Regions from separate parts of the Homo sapiens genome. Here region 1 is linked to region 2. Evidence: promoter capture Hi-C in 16 types of primary human blood cells and fetal thymus (Javierre and others, 2016). All regions are on one chromosome and are shown on one strand. The core of a region is centred on a gene start or on the middle of the fragment in contact, and the rest is flanking DNA. Distances in the headings are between cores, read along the strand shown. Region 1 overlaps ENTPD7 (ectonucleoside triphosphate diphosphohydrolase 7). Region 2 holds the start of CHUK (component of inhibitor of nuclear factor kappa B kinase complex).

Region 1 (5,635 bases), core at 644-3,143, 560 kb before region 2:
AAGAATTGGAGAGGAATGAAAAAGAAAGCAGGAAGAGTAATTGAACTAGAGATGCTCCTTGACTTATGATGGGTTATGTAAATTGAAATATCATAAGTTGAAAATGCATTTAATACACCTAACCTAACAAATGTCATAGCTTAGCCTAGCCTACTTTAAAGGTGCTCAGAACATTTACATTAGCCTACTGTTGTGCAAAACCACCTAACAGAAGGCATATTTTATAATAAAGTATTGAATATCTCATGTAATTTATTGAATACTGTACTGAAAGTGAAAAACAGAATGGTTGTGTGGATACTCACGGTATACTTTCTACTGAATGTGCATCACTTTTGCACCATCATAAAGCTGAAAAATCATAAGTTGTACCATTGTAAGTCAATGACTGTACCTCAATAGAGAGATGGTTGTGGTTGCAAGAGGATGGAGAGAGGTAAAAGCATTTAAATGTATGTGGGTGGCAGAGTGATCTGATAATTCTTGTCTATCACTGTATCCCAAGTGGTCAGAGCCAATAAATACTTGGTAGGTTGAATTAATTGAAACAAGTTAGCAATAGAGCTGAGGAACACATAGACTGTGCCACTGTGGCGACCTCACCAAAGTCCTAACACCCTGGAATGCTGTGGCTCAGAGCTCATTGTTACTTAATGAAAGGTTCTGTATATATTGCCACAAATGACCATTTATCATTAAACTTCACTCAGGGCAGCCTCCATGAGTCATTTAAGAGGCAAACATTTATTGAGGGTTTGCTGTGTCGATGACTCTATGATAGCACTGGAGTACAAAGATGACTAAACATAGCCCCTGAACTCAAGGAGTTCGTAATCTAGTTAGAGAGGCAGGCATAAAGGAAAAATTATTTCCCAGTGAGATAATAGTTTAGGTACGGTTGTATAGAATCAGGAGTGAAGAATCAGGAACTATGTACAAGGTTAAGAATTAGGAACAAAGCTAAGAATCAGAAATTAAACAGAAGAAGTTCTTGAGCAACCAAATTTGATATCACTAAGTTCATGTGCTAAAAGCACCTGTACTTTACTGATAAGATAGGCTCTCACATAAAGCCTGTTAGCTTTTATTTTACACACTGTTCTCATTTGCATGGTTCTCACTTGTCTCAGAACACAGTAGATAACAGCAAATTGGAATGGTGGGTGGGGTGTGTTGTTAGATGTGGGCACATTATGACAATAATCAGTTATATCTGGCATCTTGACAGTGAAGCAGGAGAGAGGAAATTTAATAAAGATAGACTCAATAACTCAAAATTTCTACAGACAGTTTCTATAGTGGTAAACAGTTCTACATATGTTGTTAAAACTGTTTTATTACATAGTCTAAAAATTTATGTTAATGAAATGATAATCTTTTTTTTTTTTTTTTTTTTTTTGAGACAGAGTCTCACTCTGTTGCCCAGGCTGGAGTGCAGTGGCATGATCTCAGCTCACTTCAACCTCCACCTCCCAGGTTCAAGCGATTCTCATGCCTTAGCCTCCCGAGTAGCTGGGATTACAGGTGCGCACCACCATGCCCGGCTAATTTTTGTATTTTTAGTAGAGACAGGGTTTCACCATGTTTGCCAAGCTGGTCTCAAACTCCTGGCCTCATGTGATCCACCCACCTCAGCCTCTCAAAGTGCTGGGATTACAGGCGTGAGCCACCATGCCTGGCCATTAATGATAATTTTAAATCAGAGGTTTTCAACCTTTGTGTATCTAAATCACTTGGGGACCTTTAGAAAAATGCAAATAATTGGGACTCTTCTCAAGGTGAATCTAATATACCACCTGGGTTGAGAAAAACTGCTTTAAGATTTGGTTACATTTACTTAAGGAGGTATTGTGAGGTAAGGGAAAGAATGTTAATATTAGAGTTAATCAGCCCATCATTTGCTAGTTGGGTAATCTTGGGCAGGTTTCTTAATATCCTGGAATTTCATATTCTTTATATATAAAGTGAGAATAAAAATAGCTGTCTTTTAGTCTTGTCATTTGCATAAGAAGAGTAGAGCATCTAGGAATGTCAGGTGCATTGATTGACTAATCAAATGTCAATCTATTATTTGAAATAATCTTGATTTTTCTGTTTTCCAATTCTCTTCTCTGCCTGAAAATATACACTGAAGATAATGGGCGTTATAATCTCTATTTAAAATTTTGATGAAATGATTAAGCAAGTAACTAGGAATTGGTAGAAACACTTGCTACCTTAATTTAACAGCTTAAAAAAGTTTTAACACAAGCGCCTGTAGTTGTGATTTTTTTATATTATATTCATATATAGACATATTTTTTCTACTTAAATTGTTCCTAATTCACACAGTGAAATTATATCCGTACTTTGTGGTGTCCCTCAGAAAGTGTGCTGTCTTCCAGGAACCCACTTACACGTGTCTTCATGGGAGCAAGTTTGCAAACCTTTGATCAGGAAAATGTGCCTAGAGGAACACTACATGCATTCTTTATTTTATTTTATATATCTTTTTTTTTTTTTTTTGTAGAGACAGTGTCTCCCTATGTTGCCAAGCGTAGTCATGAACTCCTAGGCTCAAGCAATCCACCTGCCTTGGCCTCGCAAAGTGCTGGGATTACAGATGTGAGCCACTGTCCTAGGCCCATTCATTGTTTTATGGTCTTGACAAATAAGGCATTGCTTTAATTAGAAATGATAGTCTCTCTTGCACATTGCATCTTTGTATTTTAATATATATGAAAGCAGTTAATGTTTAAAATATTTTAATTACTTTTGCATTGAAAACAGATATTTCAATGTGAACTTTTTATAGGCATTGGTGGAATTTAACATATCACTTTTCAGGGGATATTAACCAGGACTTTAGAAGCCTGTCAGGGGGTTTTCTCTCAGTAGTTCCAGAACTAAAGACTTACATTTTTTTTCTTTATTGTGAACATGTATCCATATTGCTTCTGGAAAGAGAGAGTAGGAAGTTTGCATCAAAACTAGAATTTATTTGATACAAAAAAAGTAAATTTAGAGAGATGGGGTGTCAGTAAGGATAGAATCCAAAACTGTGTTTTTTTTAATACACTTTTTTTAGAGCCATTTTAGTTTTACAGCTCATTTGAGCTGAAGGTGCAGAGATTTACCACATATCCCCTGACCCTACACATGCACAGCAGAGCTGTTTTTGAGAATAATACTTGTGTTAGATGTGTGGTTTTTTTTTTTTTTTTTTTTTTTTTTTGAGACAGAGTCTTGCTCTGTCGTCCAGGCTGGAGTGCAGTGGTGCGATCTCGGCTCACTGCAAGCTCCGCCTCCCGGGTTCACGCCATTCTCCTGCCTCAGCCTCCCAAGTAGCTGGGACTACAGGCACCCGCCACCAGGCCCAGCTAATTTTTTGTATTTTTAGTAGAGACGGGGTTTCACCGTGTTAGCCAGGATGGTCTTGATCTCCTGACCTCATGATCCACCCGCCTCGGCCTCCCAAAGTGCTGGGATTACAGGCGTGAGTCACTGCGCCCGGCCGAGATGTGTGTTTTAATCAACTATTTTTCTGGCATGTGCCACATAAGACATGCTCCAATATTTTCTTCAGACTCAATACATATCTTATATCCATTTATTCATTTATCTGTTTACTTATTCAACAATTATCGAGTGTCTACACTGTGGTATCAAATAGGGTAGTCACTACCCACAAGTGGCTAATTAAATTTAAATTAATTAAGATTAAATGAAACAAAATTCAGTTCCTCACTTGGACTGGGCACATTTCAAATGCTCAGTGGCCACATGTGGATATATGGGACAGTGCAGATAGAGAACATTTTCATCATTTCACAGAGTTCTGTTGACAGTGCTAAGTGTACCATGTTTTAATTTCTGCTGTGGATGCTGGGTAATTGTTAAAATTTATTAATTTTTCATACAGTCGTGTGTTATATAATGATTGGGATATGTTCTAATAAATGCATCATTAAGTGATTTCATCATTGTGTAAACATCATAGAATACTTACACAAACCTAGATGGTACAGCCTACTACACACTGAGGCTGTGTGGTGTATACGCTCCTAGCCTACAAGCCTGTACACATGTTGCTGCACTGAATACTATAGGCAACTGCAACACAATGGTAAGTATTTGTGTATCTAAACATATATAAAAATAGAAAAGGTCCAGTGAAAATATGGTATCAAAGATAAATTGGGTCTGGTATGGTGGCTCATGCCTGCAGTCCCAGTACTTTGGGAGGCTGAAGTGGGCAGATCTCTTGAGCCCAGGAGTTCCAGACCAGCCTAGGTAATAACATGGTGAAACCTCATCTCTACAGAAAATTTAGAAATTAGCTGGGTGTGGTGGTCCATGCCTGTAGCCCCAGCTACTTGGGTGGCGGAGGCGGGAGGATCACTTGAGCCCAGGAGGCCAAGGCTTCAGTGAGTCGTAATTGCTCCGCTGCACTCCATCCTGGGCAACAGAGCAAGACCCTGTCTCAAAAATAATAATAATAATAATAATAAAATAAATTGTACACCTGTATAGGGCACTTACCATCAATGGAGCTCACAGAACTGGAAGTTTCTCAGAGTGAGTGAGTGGTGAGTGTGAAGGCCTCGGACATTACTGTAGAATTTATAAACACTGTACATTTAGGCTACACTAAATTTATTTAAAAATTATTTAAAAATTTTTTTCTTTCTTCAATAATAAATTAACCTTAACTTACTGTAACTTTTCCACTTTCTAAGCTTTGAAATTTTTAAAAACTTTTTGACTGTTTTGGACTAACACAACTTAAAACACAAACATATTGTAAAGCTATAGGGAAATATTTTCCTTATAGTATTCTTATTCTATAAGTTTTCTTCTATTTTTAAAAACTTAAAGTTTTTTTTCCTTTTAAAACTTATTTGTTAGAAATGAAAACAGAAACACACACATTAGCCTAAGCCTGCACAGGATCAGGATCATCAAGACATCATTAAGTAATAGGAATTTTTTCAGTTCCATTATAATCTTATGGGACCACTGTTGTACATGTGGTTTGCTGTTGACTGAAACGTCATTATGCAGTGCGTGACTGTGTAAGAGGAACTTCTAGCATGTATACATAGTGTACAAGACACTGTGGTAAACTGTTCTTAAATGTTCTGTTTAATACCTTTCCTTTTTCACATTCATGTTTAATATTGTTCACTTTTTGGTAGCCTCACTGTTATCTTCATTAGTGGGTAAAATTTTGTCTGGTTGAACTATTGTCTGAAGAATGTCTTTTGTAGCTATTGAAAGGTGGTGCCTTCATGTTCCTTTACCATCTGGAAATAACTGAATGAGAGGTTCTGTGTCAGCAATTGGCTTGGTACTGGCCTTCCATAGGTGTTTCAATTCTGTTTAATTAAAGCAAGTCAAAGAGAAGCATTGCTTTTGGTTAGAATGCTCTTTAGCATATACAGATGAAATGATTAGGTTCTTATGTGCAATAGAACAGTTCAGAGATTTTTGATGGTGAAATTGAAAGCATTTATTCACGTTTATTTTATTATTTATAGAGTGACTCAAGCCATCCTCCTGCCTCAGCCTTCCTAATAGCTGAGATTATAGGTGCATGCCACCGTGCCTGGCTAAATTTCTTTTTTTATTTTTAGAGACAGGGGTCTCACTATGT
Region 2 (5,881 bases), core at 23-2,522:
GGAAAGGGTTCACAGCTTTTATCGGTATATCAAAAAATACATGTCCCAGGCCTGGTGCCGTGGCTCACGCCTATAATCTCTGCACTTTGGGAGCCTGAGACAGGTGGATCGCCTGAGGTCAGGAGTTCGAGACCAGCCTGGCCAACATGGTGAAACCCCGTCTCTACTAAAAATACAAAAAAATTAGCCAGGCACGGTGGCGGGCGCCTGTAATCCCAGCTACTCAGGAGGCTGTGGCAGGAGAATCGCTTGAACTCGGGAGGAGGAGGCTGCAGTGAGCCGAGATCGCGCCCTGCATTCCAGCCTGGGCGACAGAGTGAGACTCCGTCTCAAAAACAAAAACAAACAAACAAGACCCAAATATGATTTTTTAACTGCTACTACAATGGTTAAACATTCTCTATTAAATCAAAGTAAAATTCTTGAGTCTGATGTTAACTGTCCTCCACCTACTAGAGCGCCCCCCATCTCCATCTACTAATATAGCCTTTCGTTTGAAGCCATGCTCTGCACCAACTCACCCTCATACTGTCCCGACCTGGAATACATCCCCAATTCCAAAGCCCATCCATGCTTCCAAAGGCTTAACTCTGGACCCATCATGAAGCCTTCCTTGTCTACTCCAGTCCCCACTGATATCATATGGCCTCCAAGCGCGCGCGCGCGCGCGCACACACACACACACACACACACACACACACACGGACGCACACATTCCCAAAGGCAGTCCCCTTCAGCCCTCTTCTCACACATTCGTGCTCCTACATACACACTGTGACGTGCATCTGCCTCACACACCCTGACACTCCACATTCACAGAGACACACACGCACTGTCACACTCACTAAACACCTGGTCACAGCCTGACAGTCATACCCAAGTTCCCCGCAACAGCTCTATCTATGCCCAGTACCTCAAATACAACTTTGGACACACAGGCATAGTATCTTTCTCTCTAATACACACACACAAGCCCACTGGCCCCCAAATACTGCCCAAGGTCCCACCAACCATCTATCCCACACTGTCAGCCCTGTGTTCCACAGACGCTCAAACCCACCGCCGCTCCAACCCACCGCCGCTCCCTCTCACGCCCCGCCTCACCCGATGCTGGTACAGACAGACGTTCCCGAAGCCGCCGGTGCCCAGCCGCTCCCGCATCTCCCAGGGCCCGCCCGCGCCCGGCCGCAGCCCCGGGGGCCGCTCCATGGGGCGGGAGGGCAAGCGGCCTCAGGTTCCACAGTTGTTCCAAGGCCGGTTCCGGGCCGCCGATGCTCGCGCGTCTTTGTTCTCGCGAGAATGAATGCGTCACTTCCGGTAACCGCTGCGAGAAGGCCCTTCCCTAAGTTCTCCCAGGGCGCTGCCAGAGCCCTGCCGGCTAAGGGATGGGGAAACAAACAGGTACTCGGTCCGCTCTTTAAGTCCCCTACGTATTTTCCGGGAGGGCTGAACGGAACCACAATGTTTTTCTAGTCTTGGAAAACATAAGATCTCTCCAAACCCCACATTCCCGTCAAATCCACTTTTCAAAGCAGCCCAGTCTCTCCTGTATTTTTTTCTTTTTAATTAAGATGGGGTCTCGCTCCGTTGCCCAGGCTGGAGTGCAATGGCACGATCACGGCTCACTGCAGCCTCGACCTCCCGGAATTAAGCGATCTTCTCACCTCCCGAGTAGCTGGGATTGCAGGCGCGCACCACCTCGCTTGGCTAATTTTTTATTTTTTGTAGAGACATGGTCTTGCTACGTTGCCCAGGCTGGTCCCGAACTCCTGGTCTCAAGTAGTCCTCCCACCTTGGCATCCCAGAGTGCTGGGATTATAGACATGAGCCACCGCGTCCAGCAATTAGTCTTTTCTAAACTTCATATTGTCTCTACTCCTATCTACACTTCACCTTTCTTCAGATCCCTGCCATCTATCCTCCAACTCCACCACCAGCTGATCCGGCACGCTAAAGACCACCAATGATTTAAAGGCTGCGAAATCGTTAAAATACTACGCTAGCAGGCCCACTAATGAATTAGCCTTCTTGTTCACTGACTTCCCAATACACCTGCTCCAGGATATCCCCTGTCATCCCAAATGACTCAAGAATGTGACGCTATTCCGGAGTGAAGAGTGTTTCTCGGGATTTCGCGAGCTTTTTTCCTAGATGCCTCACAGAGCTTGCTGTCCGGCAGTCCAGTTATGGGTTTGCCAGCACAGTAGTTCATTGTGAGAAGTGTTTCTAATGGGTGCTACAGGGCTGCAGAGGCAAGCTTTGGGAATGCTGTTGGTGCAGCAAGTGCTTCCGGGTGGCGGATTGCCATAGCATAGGGGAAACAACTCCTGGTCTTCCATTTAAGAGGGTCATACCTTCACTGTACCTGGGGGATCTCAATACTCCAAGTAAAGGAATCAGCATGGAATCAAATTATTGATAAATGTGATGCTGCAACCAGAATGTTGAGCACTGCATGATACAGACGAAGTCGATGTTGTAGGTCATTAGTAACATGTGGTATGGGAGGTTCTGGTTTCTGTAAGTGCATGGTTTCCATGGACTTGGAGATGATGATGCCTCTGAGGACATGTCATTTAGAGCTGGGCAGACCGCACAGAGAATTGTGGTACAGATTGTTGTAACAGTATGAAGCCCTCTCATTTGCTGTATGTACAGCATGGCCAGTGCTAATGTGCTCAATTTCCGTAGGTGGGGCTGTAATCTCGTAATTCCCAGTCAAAAGAGGTAGGAAGGGATGCTGAGGACCCAGGGATACTGATGATTGGGCTGACCCAGAAGTGGCCATCTTTGTGGAAACCAGGTTGGTTCCCTTGGTTAACTTTTTAAATGCCCCCATTCCCAGGGCCATGAGTAATTTGAGTTGTTTTTTGTTGTTGTTGTTGTTATTGTTTGAGATGGAGTTTCACTCTTGTCACCCAGGCTGGAGTGCAATGGTGTGATCTCAGCTCACTGCAACCTCCACCTCCAGGGTTCAAGCAATTCTACTGCCTCAGCCTCCCGAGTAGCTGGCATTACAGGCGCATGCAACCACGCCCAGCTAATTTTTTGCATTTTTAGTAGAGACGGGGTTTCACCGTGTTGGCTAGGCTGGTCTCAAACTCCTGATCTCAGGTCATCTGCCTGCCTCAGCCTCCCAAAGTGCTGCAATCACAGGCATGAGCCACCTGGCCTGTTTTTTAAAAAGCCTAAGCCTGTTGACCCCAGGCTCCACAATCTTCAATTTTCCGAGTCTCAGTTTTTTTTTCATGAGTAAAATAGAGGTAATACCTACCTCACAGAGATTTTGTGAAGATTAAATGAAACAGTGTCTGGACCATAAGTGCCCAATATAAAGGTAAAAATATTTTTCTTTTTGCGCCTAATATGTAGCATTCTCTTTGCTCCTTCTCTATGTAAATGTTAGATCACTATTTTCAAGCACTCCTTAAATACTGATATTTCTCAGGTAATCATCTTCAGCTCAGGACTGTATTTACCCTATCTTAATTTCACCTATGGCCTATACCCTGATGATCCCCAAAGCCCTGTAACCAACCCAGGTACTGATGAGTTTAGAACTGCCCAGCAGCACAACAGACACATATTAGATATATCAAGCACCTAAAACAATATCCAAAGGAGAATTATCTTTTTTTTCTTAAATCTGTCCCTTCTATTCCCCATTAAACTGTAATCTCTGGGACAACAGGGACCATATTGGGACATGACTATGGTCCTGGAGCTTAGAAAAATGCCTGGCACATAGGAGTTAAATATCCGAAGGACTAAATGGGCTCTTATCTATGAATAAGATGAATGCTTAAGAGAAAAATAGCAAAAGCCTTGGATCCCTTTTCCACTTTGGGTTGTTCAGGGAGAAACTGCCCTGTGTGATTTTGGAGTAACAGCTGGGCCTAAAGCTCTAGCCCCTGCTATTACACATACTACTTCATTTCAACGGTCACAGGCAACATGAACACAAGACACTTCTCAACCATGGAAAAACATCTGGATTTCATTTGGTAGTTTAAAGGTTTTTGAAAATGTTGATATACACAAGCTGTACTTGGAGCTGGATAACAGACATAGGAGCTGGATGACAGACATACTTTTATTCTTTTATTTTTGAGATGGAGTTTCACTGTCACCCAGGCTGGAGTGCAATGGAGCGATCTTGGCTCACTGCAACCTCCACCTCCCAGGCTCAAGCAATTCTCCTGCCTCAGCCTCCTGAGTAGCTGGGATTACAAGTGCCTGGCACCACGCCCAGCTAATTTTTGTAGCTTTAGTAAAGACGGGGTTTCACCATGTTGGCCAGGCTGGTCTCAAACTCCTCACCTCAGGTGATCCACCTGCCTCGGCTTCCCAAAGTACTGGGATTACAGGCGTGAGCCACTGCGCCCGGCCTTAACATAGGATTTTCATCCTAGAATGACTTTTCCCCAAAAAGATTCAATCTTAGGCCTCTTGCTGTAGGCAAGTTCCATGGGACTGCACAAAAGAGGCAGGGAAACAGTCCCCATGGGAGATTGTAGTTTCTTTAAAAATAGGCTTCTAGGCCAGGAATGGTGTCTCATGCTTGTAATCCCAGCAGGTTAAGAAGCCAAGGCAGAGGATCCCTTGAGCCTAGGCATTACAGACCAGCCTGGGCAACACAGGGAGACCCTCCTGTCTCTATAAAAAATCAAAAAAGTTTGCCAGGCATGGTAGCATGCGCCTGTGGTCCCAGCTACTCATGAGGCTGAGGTGGGAGGAACTCTAGAGCCCAGGAGGTTGAGGCTACAGTGAGCCACAGTTATGCCACTGCAATCCTGCTTGGGTGACAGAGCGAGACTTTGTCTCAAAAAAAATTCTTTTAATTAAAAAAAAAAAAAAGCTTTACTACTTCCTGTGGAGTTCATAAAAAGTTCTTCCCTTTGTTTTAGTCATCCAGAGTAAAGTCATAGGGCTCAAAGTCTTTCCGGAAGCGGCGAGCCAGGGTCTCCTCGTCTTCCTTGCTGATCTGACACTGCCTCCAGTCAGACTTATCAGGAACATTAAGGATGGCTTCACTGGCCAGGACCTCCCTGCAGAAATAGCACAAAGAAGTCAAAATGGAAACTATCAGCCTGAGCTCTCCTCAACATCACCCAAAGGAGGTATGCAAATTTCTCTGACTTTGCTCTCCTGCCCTGAGTGCCATCTCTGCCATACTATTGATCAAAATCATACCCGTTTTAAATGACCAGCTCAGGTACTATATATTTCCTGATCCTTCAAACCCCACTTGCTTCTCCCTCTCTTAAAAAACTTGGAACTATATTATTGGTACTTAGAGAAGCAACACCACATAGAAAAAGGGCAGGCCCTGGTGTGAGAAAGATCAGAGACTGGATCCCATTTCCAGCTTTGCCACTTGCTATCTATGATCTAGACAGATGATTTCATCTCTGAGTCTTGATTTCCTCACCTATGAAATGCAAATAAGAACACCCACCATACAGGGTTTTTGTGAGGTACAGAGATAACACAGTCAAAGTGCCATATTAGCTGTGATTACAACCTGCCTTAAACTGTAGTTTTGTCACCTCAACTAGACATGAGTTTGCAGAGTCAGGAGCCTAGTCATACCCACTCTGATTTAAAATTCCTCTGCCTCTCCTTCTAGGGGACTCAGGCCCACGTAACAGCAGCACAAGCCCAATGTCAACAAAACAACTATCTTGGCTCTTAGGACTAAAGAATAACTACATACAGACACACTCACACACAAGCTGCCTTCTAATCGCCATTGCTTTATATTTTTATTTTTACTTATTTTGATATATTAGAAATAATTCTATTACACATTTATATGGTTCATTTTCCACTTTGAAGTTACAGTAAATAGAAGAGTTAGAAACAAATCATGAATTCTCTA

Evidence for each region. Contacts are between HindIII fragments. The CHiCAGO score rates a contact against its expected background, and 5 or more counts as called.
Region 1: a contact is called between a fragment that was not itself captured here and the fragment with the promoter of CHUK in region 2, in 1 of 17 cell types (neutrophils). The highest score is 5.0, in neutrophils.

The regions. Positions count from the first base shown.
Region 1 is chr10:99,666,554-99,672,188 of GRCh38, forward strand. All of the region lies in intron 3 of ENTPD7 (ectonucleoside triphosphate diphosphohydrolase 7), which reads left to right. Among named protein-coding and RNA genes, the nearest start is that of ENTPD7, 9.9 kb to the left of the region's middle. The HindIII fragment of the contact is 5,646 bases long and covers 1-4,716 here.
Region 2 is chr10:100,228,324-100,234,204 of GRCh38, forward strand. CHUK (component of inhibitor of nuclear factor kappa B kinase complex) reads right to left here and starts at 1,273. Exons shown (of 21, transcript NM_001278.5): 1 at 1,105-1,273. The coding sequence starts at 1,209. It overlaps CHUK-DT (CHUK divergent transcript), which reads left to right and starts at 1,337. Exons shown (of 4, transcript NR_186419.1): 1 at 1,337-1,401; 2 at 2,692-2,803; 3 at 4,908-5,120; 4 at 5,630-5,881. CWF19L1 (CWF19 like cell cycle control factor 1) reads right to left here. Exons shown (of 14, transcript NM_018294.6): 14 at 3,975-5,048. The coding sequence ends at 4,904. RefSeq lists silencers at 1,011-1,250, 2,320-2,582 and an enhancer at 1,361-1,410. The HindIII fragment of the contact is 6,397 bases long and covers 1-2,255 here.